Regions from separate parts of the Homo sapiens genome. Here region 1 is linked to region 2. Evidence: promoter capture Hi-C in 16 types of primary human blood cells and fetal thymus (Javierre and others, 2016). All regions are on one chromosome and are shown on one strand. Each heading gives the region's core, a stretch centred on a gene start or on the middle of the fragment in contact. The rest is flanking DNA. Distances are from core to core; before and after follow the strand shown.

What was found. Contacts are between HindIII fragments. The CHiCAGO score rates a contact against its expected background, and 5 or more counts as called.
Region 1: the fragment with the promoter of BTBD6 here is called in contact with the fragment with the promoter of SIVA1 in region 2 in 2 of 17 cell types (erythroblasts and neutrophils); the score reaches 5.8 in erythroblasts.

The regions. Positions count from the first base shown.
Region 1 is chr14:105,246,769-105,250,980 of GRCh38, reverse strand. It overlaps BTBD6 (BTB domain containing 6), which reads right to left and starts at 2,448. Exons shown (of 4, transcript NM_001387567.1): 1 at 1,896-2,448; 2 at 1,734-1,824; 3 at 1,503-1,621; 4 at 1-1,341. The coding sequence starts at 2,269. The coding sequence ends at 309. The region is part of intron 5 of BRF1 (BRF1 general transcription factor IIIB subunit); the gene reads left to right. RefSeq lists enhancers at 451-1,240, 2,032-2,822 and silencers at 1,847-1,896, 2,097-2,656. The HindIII fragment of the contact is 26,340 bases long and covers 186-4,212 here.
Region 2 is chr14:104,749,871-104,754,396 of GRCh38, reverse strand. It overlaps SIVA1 (SIVA1 apoptosis inducing factor), which reads right to left and starts at 1,250. Exons shown (of 4, transcript NM_006427.4): 1 at 1,078-1,250. The coding sequence starts at 1,195. All of the region lies in intron 2 of LOC107987209 (a long non-coding RNA gene), which reads left to right. RefSeq lists enhancers at 1,155-1,224, 1,235-1,284, 930-1,431, 2,135-2,224 and a silencer at 1,385-1,754. The HindIII fragment of the contact is 19,431 bases long and covers 1-4,526 here.

The DNA.
Region 1 (4,212 bases), core at 1,199-3,698, 500 kb before region 2:
AGGGTAGCAGGAAGATCCAACCCCTCAAAGCAGGTGGCATGGGTGCCACTGGGAGGGGATCTGGGGCCTGTCTTGAGCCGTAAATCTTCCTCCACCTGAGACGTGCACCCCACTGTACCAGAGATGCCTAAGACTCCAATCCCTGGGTTCTGGCTGTGTGGAAAATGTCTCTACACAGTCAAGCTTCAGCTGACTACATGTCAAAGAGAGACAAAGTTAAGAGCAGCCTTTCATGGTGTCAAGAAGCAGTTAGCATCTTGACTTCCCCTCCACTCACTCGCTGACCTGCTGCAGCCTCCCCGGGCACCTCAGGCATAGAAAATGAGCTCAGGGATCTGCCCACCCTGGACCCCAGTCCCGTTGGTGCTGTCCGAGGAGCACTGGAACTGGAAGGCCACCTTTCCACACTGCACTTCCGTCATCCCCTCCTGCCCAAAGTAGCTGAGTTCGCTGCCGTCCAGGACGGCACTGGCCGTGTAGAAGGTGTCTTGTTCAACCTGGACCGGGTGTTCAAACCAGACCGGGAAGGTGTTACTGGATCCGTCTGACATGAACTTGGTCAAGTTCTGAGCCAGAACCACCCCGAGCCGCTTGAGCTCAATCTTCACGCTGTACTCAGCCTTCCCAGAGCTGGAGCCATACAGGCCCAGCCCTGCAATAAATACCCTTCTGTCCACTGCAAACTGGATGCTGTCGCAGCGCCCGCGGTACCGCCACTGGTTGCTGCGGTAGGCAGAAGACTGGAATCGGTGGCACCTCTGCGGGGCGAGGCCCTTCCTCTTGGTCAGGGGAAAGTCCAGGCGGGGCTTGTTGGTGGCCGTGTACCACAGGAAGATGCTGTGGGTCTCCTCCAGAGTCAGGATGTCTGACTGGGCAGCGCCGTTGGCAAACTCCTCTAGGGTCATGGTTGGAATTCGGACCAGATAGAGGGCTCGCCCCAGAACATGCCTCTTGTTTCGTGGGGTGATTGGCAGCCCCTGCCTCTTGCACTCCGCCTCGGCCCAGTTCAGGACGGCCTCGAAGACCACCGCCTCTTTGGTGTTGAGGGCCTCCCGAGTGACAATGATCTCCAGCGTCTGCCGGTCTATCTCACAGAAGCCTTCGGACCGTAGGGCCATCTCGGCCTGTGCGTCAATGACCTCCCAGCAGCGCTGCGTCAGCTCGGGCTCCTCAAACAGCCGGCTCTGGGACAGCAGGACGCAGGCGTTCTTGGCTTCCAAACTTGTCTCCAGAAAGTTGACACAGGCTTTTGCCAATGCTGGGACGATGTACTTCTTAGCAGCGTACAGAGTGGCCAGCACCGTGTCGGCTTCCAGATCGATCTCATCACTGTACATGTACCTAGGCGAGGCAGGGCCCGCGTCAGGGGCTGGCTCCCAAGCACCCATCGCGGGGCTGGGCCTGGGAGAGGAGTCCATCAGCTCCTGTGTGCTTCCCTTCAGAAGCCTCCGGAGGCCGCCTAAAACGGACCCACCCGTCCCTCCCCAGTAGAGTGGACTTACTTTAAGAGGATCAGAAAGGCTGCGGGCTCCACGTCTGGAATGTGAATTTCAGATTTGACTTCCGCCAGGTCTCCGTAGAACATGGCATAGAAGACGGAGCTGCCGACAGCCAAGACGTACTGGGAGGAGAAAGCGCCGCCGTGAGCCTGGCTCTCCCGCAGGCTGCGTGTCAGCCACACGGCGGACGGGGCGGACGGGGCACGCGTTCCGAGAGGGGCCGCCGCTACCCACCTTGTGGGCGGGCACCGTCCTGGTCGCCCCCGGGGGCCCCACGACGAAGTGCACGTCGGCCATGAGCTCGTTGTTGAACATGAGCGCGTTCCTGCAAAGGTAGAGGCACGGGCTGGGGGCGTGGGCGCGCGCGGGCGCGGGGGCCGCGGGGCACGGGCTCACCTCTCGCGCAGCGTGGGGCGGCAGCACCGCCAGCCGGGGCTCTCCTGGTGGTTGTTGCCGAGTGTGGGCGGCGCGGGCGCGGGCGGCGGCGGCGCTGGCGCGGGGGCGCTGGGCGGGCTGCGCGGCCCGGCCTTCCTGCCCACGGCGGCGCCGGCGTTGCTGTTGGCTAGGTCCGCGGCCGCGGCGCTGGCGGGAGCGTAGAGTTCCGCCGCCATCTTCGCGGGCGGGGCGGCGGGGGCAGCCTCGGCGCCTGTGGACGCCGCGCCCCGCGCCCTCGCGCCGCGCCGGGGCCTCGGGAGCGGCTCTGCAAGCAAAAGCAAGGAGGTCAGGCACTGAGCGACGCGGCCGTGCAGGCAGGCTAGGGGCAGCAGCATGGGCGGCGGCGGCGCTGTGACCCGCGGGGCTGCCACCCGCTCCCCTGCCACCCCCGCCCCTGCGACCCTGCCCGAGCCCAGCCTAGCGCAGCCCGGCCAGGCCCGGCCGCGGGGGGCGCCGTCCCGCCCGCCCGCCCGCCCGAGCCCGTACCCGCCGCGGCGCCGGTGCGTCACGCTGCGTCAGGGCCGCGCCCCGCGCGACGTCGCTGCCTCGCGGCCCCGCCCCCAGGCCCGACATCCTCGAAGCTGCTCGAGCTTCTGCCCAGCAACCGGCGCGAGCCGCGCGCTGTGCAGAGGTAGCCGTGGAAGGCGGCTCCCGGCGCTGGCAGGCGGCCGCCCCCAGACCCGCAGTGCCATGCGCAGGTGCTTGCGCCCGTTCTTCAGTTAGCGATCTTTTGGTTAGGAACGCAGGTGGACCTGCTTGTTTGGCCATTTGCATTCCGGAGTCTGCCTCTGGCCGCGGCCTGTGGGATGGTCGTTGGGCTTCCTCGTTCGTTCAGATGCTTCGCGATTTAGCTTGCTACGGACGCCAGCAGCCAGCGCTTGCAGAGAGCGCGGTCCACTCTGCTCTGAGGGCTTTACAGGGGCAGGCGCTGCTATTTCCCGGCATTTTCCTCGAGGAAATAGGCACAGAGAGGTTAGTCGCGCGCTGAAGGTCACACAGCCGGCGGGTGGGCAAGTCAGGATCTGGCCCTGGGCCTGCAGCCCTGGAGCTTGGGCCCCAGGGCGCGCCCTGCCTCTGTGGCTCTGCCTGTGGATCGCAGTCGCAGGCTCGCTCCTTGTGGGGCCTCTAGCCTCCCGGCCTGGGGCTAATCCTGGGAGGTGCGTGGCATGGGGCACTGGCTTTGCTGATGAGGAGACCAGACTTCAGAGGCCGTGTCACCTGGCCTGGGCCGCACAGCTGGTGCATGCCAAGCTCGCGTGCAGACGAAGCTCCAGAGGCCTGGCTGTCAGGAGGGTTCCTCCCCGAGGACACACACGCAACCTCCTGGACCGCCAGGCTTTAGACTTTTAAAACTTCCATATGCAGGAAACCCCACAGGACGCAGCCAGCATCTCGGGTCATGGGTGCACCTGTCACCGCAGTCCTGGGCTAAACAGTGAACAGGAGCTCTGTGTCTCTGTGGTCGTTACAGTTGTAGTGAATGTTCCCTGGGAGAGTCCTCTTCAGAAGATATTTGCGGTATTTTCAACAAAGGACTCTCCAGGATGGAGGAGCAACTACAAGTCAGGAAGGAAAAGGCTGACAACCCAGTTTTTTAAAAAACGGGCAAAGGACGTGAACAGACACCATGCAATGGCCCAGAGTGCACAAATCATCATTTCTCCCAGGAATGGGGTGCCCGAGCCCCCAGGCGGCTGAACTTGAGACTTGTCACGTAGTGTTGGTGGAATGCAGAGCAGCTGGAGATCACCTGCTGCAGGTGGGTGCGTAACTCCGCACGGCCAAGCCGTTTGGAAAGCTGTAGCATATGCATGAGAGTCCGGAAAGTTCCGAGAGAAAGTGTGTGGATGCACCCGCCAAGGACACACCCACCGAGGCCACAGCTGCGATTTCATAGTGTGGGACCCCACTGGCAAAGACACGCTGGCTGCTGTGGCCGTGGTTTCTGTCCCAGCCGTCTGTTTCCATAGAAAAAGGTAACGGGCATAAGCAGTTTCCAGGAGAAATACAAATGGCCAGAGTGGAGACAGCCTACATGTCCATCAGCAACAGAAAGGATCAGCAGGTTGTGGTGGGTCCATTTGGGGAATGCAGTGAGAAGGAATAACTTACAGCAGCACACAAGACCTGGGCGACAGCTGTCTCCGGGGGTGCCAGGATAGAATTGCTGAGCCGCCAGAGGTAGTCAGCGTCTTGATCTGCATGGTGGTGTGGAGCATGTGAATAATAATTTTCATCCTTAGAAAGAAACCACCCTTTGCACTTTGATTTTTAAATA
Region 2 (4,526 bases), core at 1-2,500:
TACCTCCCCATGGCCCAGAATAGCACTCGCTTTCACAGCCCTAGCACACTGGAGACACCGCACAGAGGAACCTCGGGAGGCAGAGTCTTTCCCTCATTCCCAAGGCACAAGCGGCACCAGGTAAATCACACACCCCGGGTCATCCTCTAACTGCTCTACAGGTGCAGACTTTGTGTCCCAATCACTAGGCAAGGTAAGCTCCACTTTTTACCTGCCCCAGGGTATTAATCACCCCAGTCAGAGTGATGATCAATAAGATCAACACGCCTGAAATCCACAGGAGAAAGCCAGAGAAGGCCTGGGAGCTCACTGCCCTCACATCCCACCCAGAACTGGACACTGCAGCCACACGGAGTCCTATTTCGCTCTCCTGCTGCCTGGCTTCTGCCTCGCCCTCTTCCTTCCCTTCCTCTGCCTGGCTAACTCCTACTCGCCCCCACAGGATTCCGCTCAGACTGTTCTTCCAAGAAGCCTTCCGTGCCATCCCTGCAGGTGCGCCTGCACAAACCTGTGCCTGCCCCGACCACCTGTGGCGACTCCTCCTGCTGGTCTCCCCAACTAGGCTGGGGAGCTCCCGGGAGACGGGGCACATCTGTCTTGCCTGCCTTTGGTCTCCCGAGAAAGCCGCCGTGCCTGGCAGGGCCGCGCGCTCCATGAATACCTCTTGGGACAGGAGGGGCACTCTTCGGGTTGACTCCATGCAGGACGCCCCGCTCCCCAACCTCTCCCAGGACATCCTGCACGGGACAGTCCTGAGAAAGCACCAGGCGGGTGCCGCTCACTGCAGGGCGGCGACTAACCGGGATCGTGGAAGAGGGCGCGGGGGCTAGGGGCAGGGACCCTTTTCTTTCAGGCTGTTGGACAGGGTGGGCGAACGCTGGGGTCCTCACATCCCCCTCACTGACCCCAGCCCTGGGCGTGGCCAGCTTGTGTCCCCGCGGCCTCCCAGCTTCCGGGAACGCGGGGCCAGAAAGCAGGGCCCTCCAGCCCCCCGCTCAGGCCTCAGAGGGGACGCTGAGGCCCGGCCCGTTCCAGGCCCCGACGCAGCGGACCCTCGGCAGCCCGCCCGACACTCACCGAAGACCTCCTGCGAGTAGCGCTCGGCGCACACGCCGCGGCTCAACTCCCTCTGGCTCACGCGGACCTTGAGCTGTAGCGGGGCCACGTCCGCGAAGGGGCAGCTCCGCTTGGGCATGGCCGCGGGGCCGGGAGCTACGCAGCTCCCCGGCCGCCAGCCCCTTACCAACGACGCCGTGACGTCACAGCTGCGCGCCCATCCGCGGGCGAGAGCGGGTTTGAGGAGAGGGAGCGACGCGGCGCGTCATAGGCTGCGGGCGAAGTGGGAGGCGGGACTCCTGCGCGGAGCGGCGCGGGATAGGCCGAGGGAGAGATCGGGGGTGGGACTCGTGCGTCGGTGTACTGGACTCGACGCCGCGGGAAAGGCCAGGGGCCAGGTTGAGGATCAGGGTGGGCGGGTCCGTGGGAGAGATTTGTGCGCGCGCCGCTCAGGATAGGCGGGAGGAGAGACTAGGGGCGGGGTTCCTATGCGGCGCGAAGCGACGAAGGGTGGGAGCCAGGTCGCGGCATTCGGCTGCGCGGGAAGAGCCAGGGGGCGGGGGCGAGGCCGAGGGTCAGGACGGTGCAACGAGGGCGGAGCTTGTGCATCGGGGGCGGGCCTCGTTTGAGGATCGGCGTGGGATAGGCCAGGGCGACGTCGGGGCGGGTCTAGTTTGAGGAGCGGCGCGGGATAGGCCAGGGCAAAGTCTGGGGCGGCTGGGTCGGTGGCGGGATTCCTGTCAGCTTTTGTTTGGTTCCTAAACGGTAGACACTGGTTATAGTTCCTCATTTACTTCTCCGAAGTTAAGAGGCAGCCCGCTTCTTCCTAGCTCTTTTTTCCCCTTTAGAGACAGGGTCTCGCTCTGTCACCCAGACTGAGTGCAGTGGCAGTCTCGGCTCACTGTAGCTTGCGCCTCCCGGGCTCAGGCGATCCTCCCTTCTCGGCCTCCCCGGTAGCTGGGACCGCAGGCGCGCGCCTCCGCGCCCCGCTTTTTGGTTTTGGGTAGGAACGGGGGTTTTTCTGTGTTGCCTCAGCTGGCTTAGCTCCTCACTGTGGCGGTCTCCGCCTTCCAGAAGTAAAGGCGTGTGGGGGCTGCGCTCTGAGGGCCGCGTGCGGCTGCCGAGCGCCCCCGGGCGGGGGTATGCGCCGCTGTGTGGAAAATGTTCTTGCACAGCGGGTTCGTCTGACTTGGTGTCCCCATGCCGCGAGGTGCACCCGCGTCGTCCCTTCTCCGGGGTTCTGCTCACCAGAGGCGGCTCTCCCCTGCCCCGGCGGGTACAGAACCGACCCGTCCTGTGGCGTGGGCTTCGCCCTGTGAGAGATGACAGCGTGCTGGCAGCCCTCGCTCGCTCTCGGCGCCCACTCTGGCCGCGCTCGAGGGGCCCTTCAGCCCGCCGCTGCACTGTGGGAGCCCCTCTCTGGGCTGGCCGCGGCCGGAGCCGGCTCCCTCAGCTTGCAGGGAGGTGTGGAGGGAGAGGTGCGGGCGGGAACCCGGGCTGCACGTGGCGCTTGCGGGTCAGCGTGAGTTCCGGGTGGGCGTGGGCTCGGCGGGCCCCGCAATCGGAGCCACCGGCCCCAGGCAGTGAGGAGCTTAGCACCCGGGCCAGCAGCTGCGGAGGATGCGCCGGGTCCCCCACCAGTGCCGGCCCGCCGGCGCTGCGCTCGAATTCTCACCGGGCCTCAGCTGCCTCCCCGCGAGGCAGGGCTCAGGACCTGCAGCCCGCCATGCCTGAGTCTCCCCCCTGCCGTGGGCTCTTGCGCGGCCCCCTGCTCCGCGGCACCCGGTCCCATCGACCGCCCAAGGGCTGAGGAGTGCGGGCGCACGGCGCGGGACTGGCGGGCAGCTCCACCTGCAGCCCCGGTGTGGGATCCACTAGGTGAAGCCAGCTGGGCTCCTGAGTCTAGCGGCGACTTGGAGAACCTTTATGTCAAGCTAAGGGATTGTAAATACACCAATCAGCACTGTGTTTAGCTCAAGGTTTGTAAACTCACCAATCGGTACCCTGTGTCTAGCTCAAGGTTTGTAGATGCACCCATGGGCACTCTGTATCCAGCTAATCTGGTGGGGATTTGGAGAACCTTTATGTCTAGCTGTGGGATTGTGGACGCACCAGTCAGCACTCTGTGTTTAGCTCAAGGTTTGTAAATGTACCAATCAGCACTCTGTATCTAGCTAATCTGGTGGGGACTTGGAGAACCTTTATGTCTAGCTAAGGGACTGTAAATACACCAATCAGCACTCTGTGTCTAGCTCAAGGTTTGTAAAGACACCAATCAGCACCCTGTATCTAGCTCAAGGTTTGTAAATGCACCAATCAGTGCTCTGTGGGGACTTGGAGAACTTCTGTGTCTAGCTCAGGGATTGTAAACACACCAATCAGCGCCCTGTCAAGACGGACCAATCAGCTTTCTGTAAAACAGACCAGCCCTCTGTAAAATGGACCAATCAGCAGGATATGGGTGGGGCCAGATAAGGGAATAAAAGCAGGCCGCCCGAGCAGGCAGTGGGAACGTGTTGGTGTTCTGCCACATGTTTGGGGCTTTGCTCTTTCACTCTTTGGGTCCACACTTTTTATGAGCTGTAACACTCACTGGGAAGGTGTGTAGCTTCACTTCTGAGGCCAGCAAAGCCACAAACCCACCGGGAGGAATGAACAGCTCCAGACACACTGCCTTAAGAGCTGTAACACTCCTTGTGAAGGTCTGCAGCTCCACTCCTGAAGCCAGCAAGACCGTGAGTCTGCCAGAAGGAACAAACTCCAAACACGTCCAAACATCAGAAGGAACAAACTGCAGACATAACAATTTTAAGAACTGTAACAGTCAACTGTGAGGACCTAGTGCTTCATTCTTAAAGTCAGTGAGATCAAGAACCCACCAATTCTGGACACACCTGGACTATGTTCTCACGACTCCATCGGTGTTGCCTCCGGTGTGAAGAGGTGATGCCTGGAGTCCCGCAAACCCCTCCCACGTGACTCCCGTGTTGCAGCTGCCCACGCCCCCTCAGAGGCAGTGTATGCTTTCCTAGCCATGGGTGGCTGAAACCTTACCAGTCTCCAGCTTAGATGTCCTTTCTCCTCCTGCCGTGCAGGGTTCCCTGTGGTGGGGATGGGATCAAGCATTCTTGGCTCTTCCTTGCCACTTTGCTGGCATAATGGAGAATTTTTTCTGCCTTAGGGAAATGACTTGAAAGTTACTCAGTTGGAGTCACGTGTGACTAAACACAGATTTGGTTTATCCCAGAAATAGATGAAGTTCTCAGAGAGGAGGATTGTTTTCAATCTTATGGATCGTGGGGATTTCTAAAGATTTCCCTGTGTTCAGACTTGCAACTCTCCTAGGGTCTCATCACCATCGTGGACAGATACAGAACATCGGGCAGCTTATGGAGTGGGGCTGTCCCCCAGGCCACATGCCGGTTCCTCAGAGGTTGCTGGGTAGGATTCTGCTGCTTTAACAAACTTGC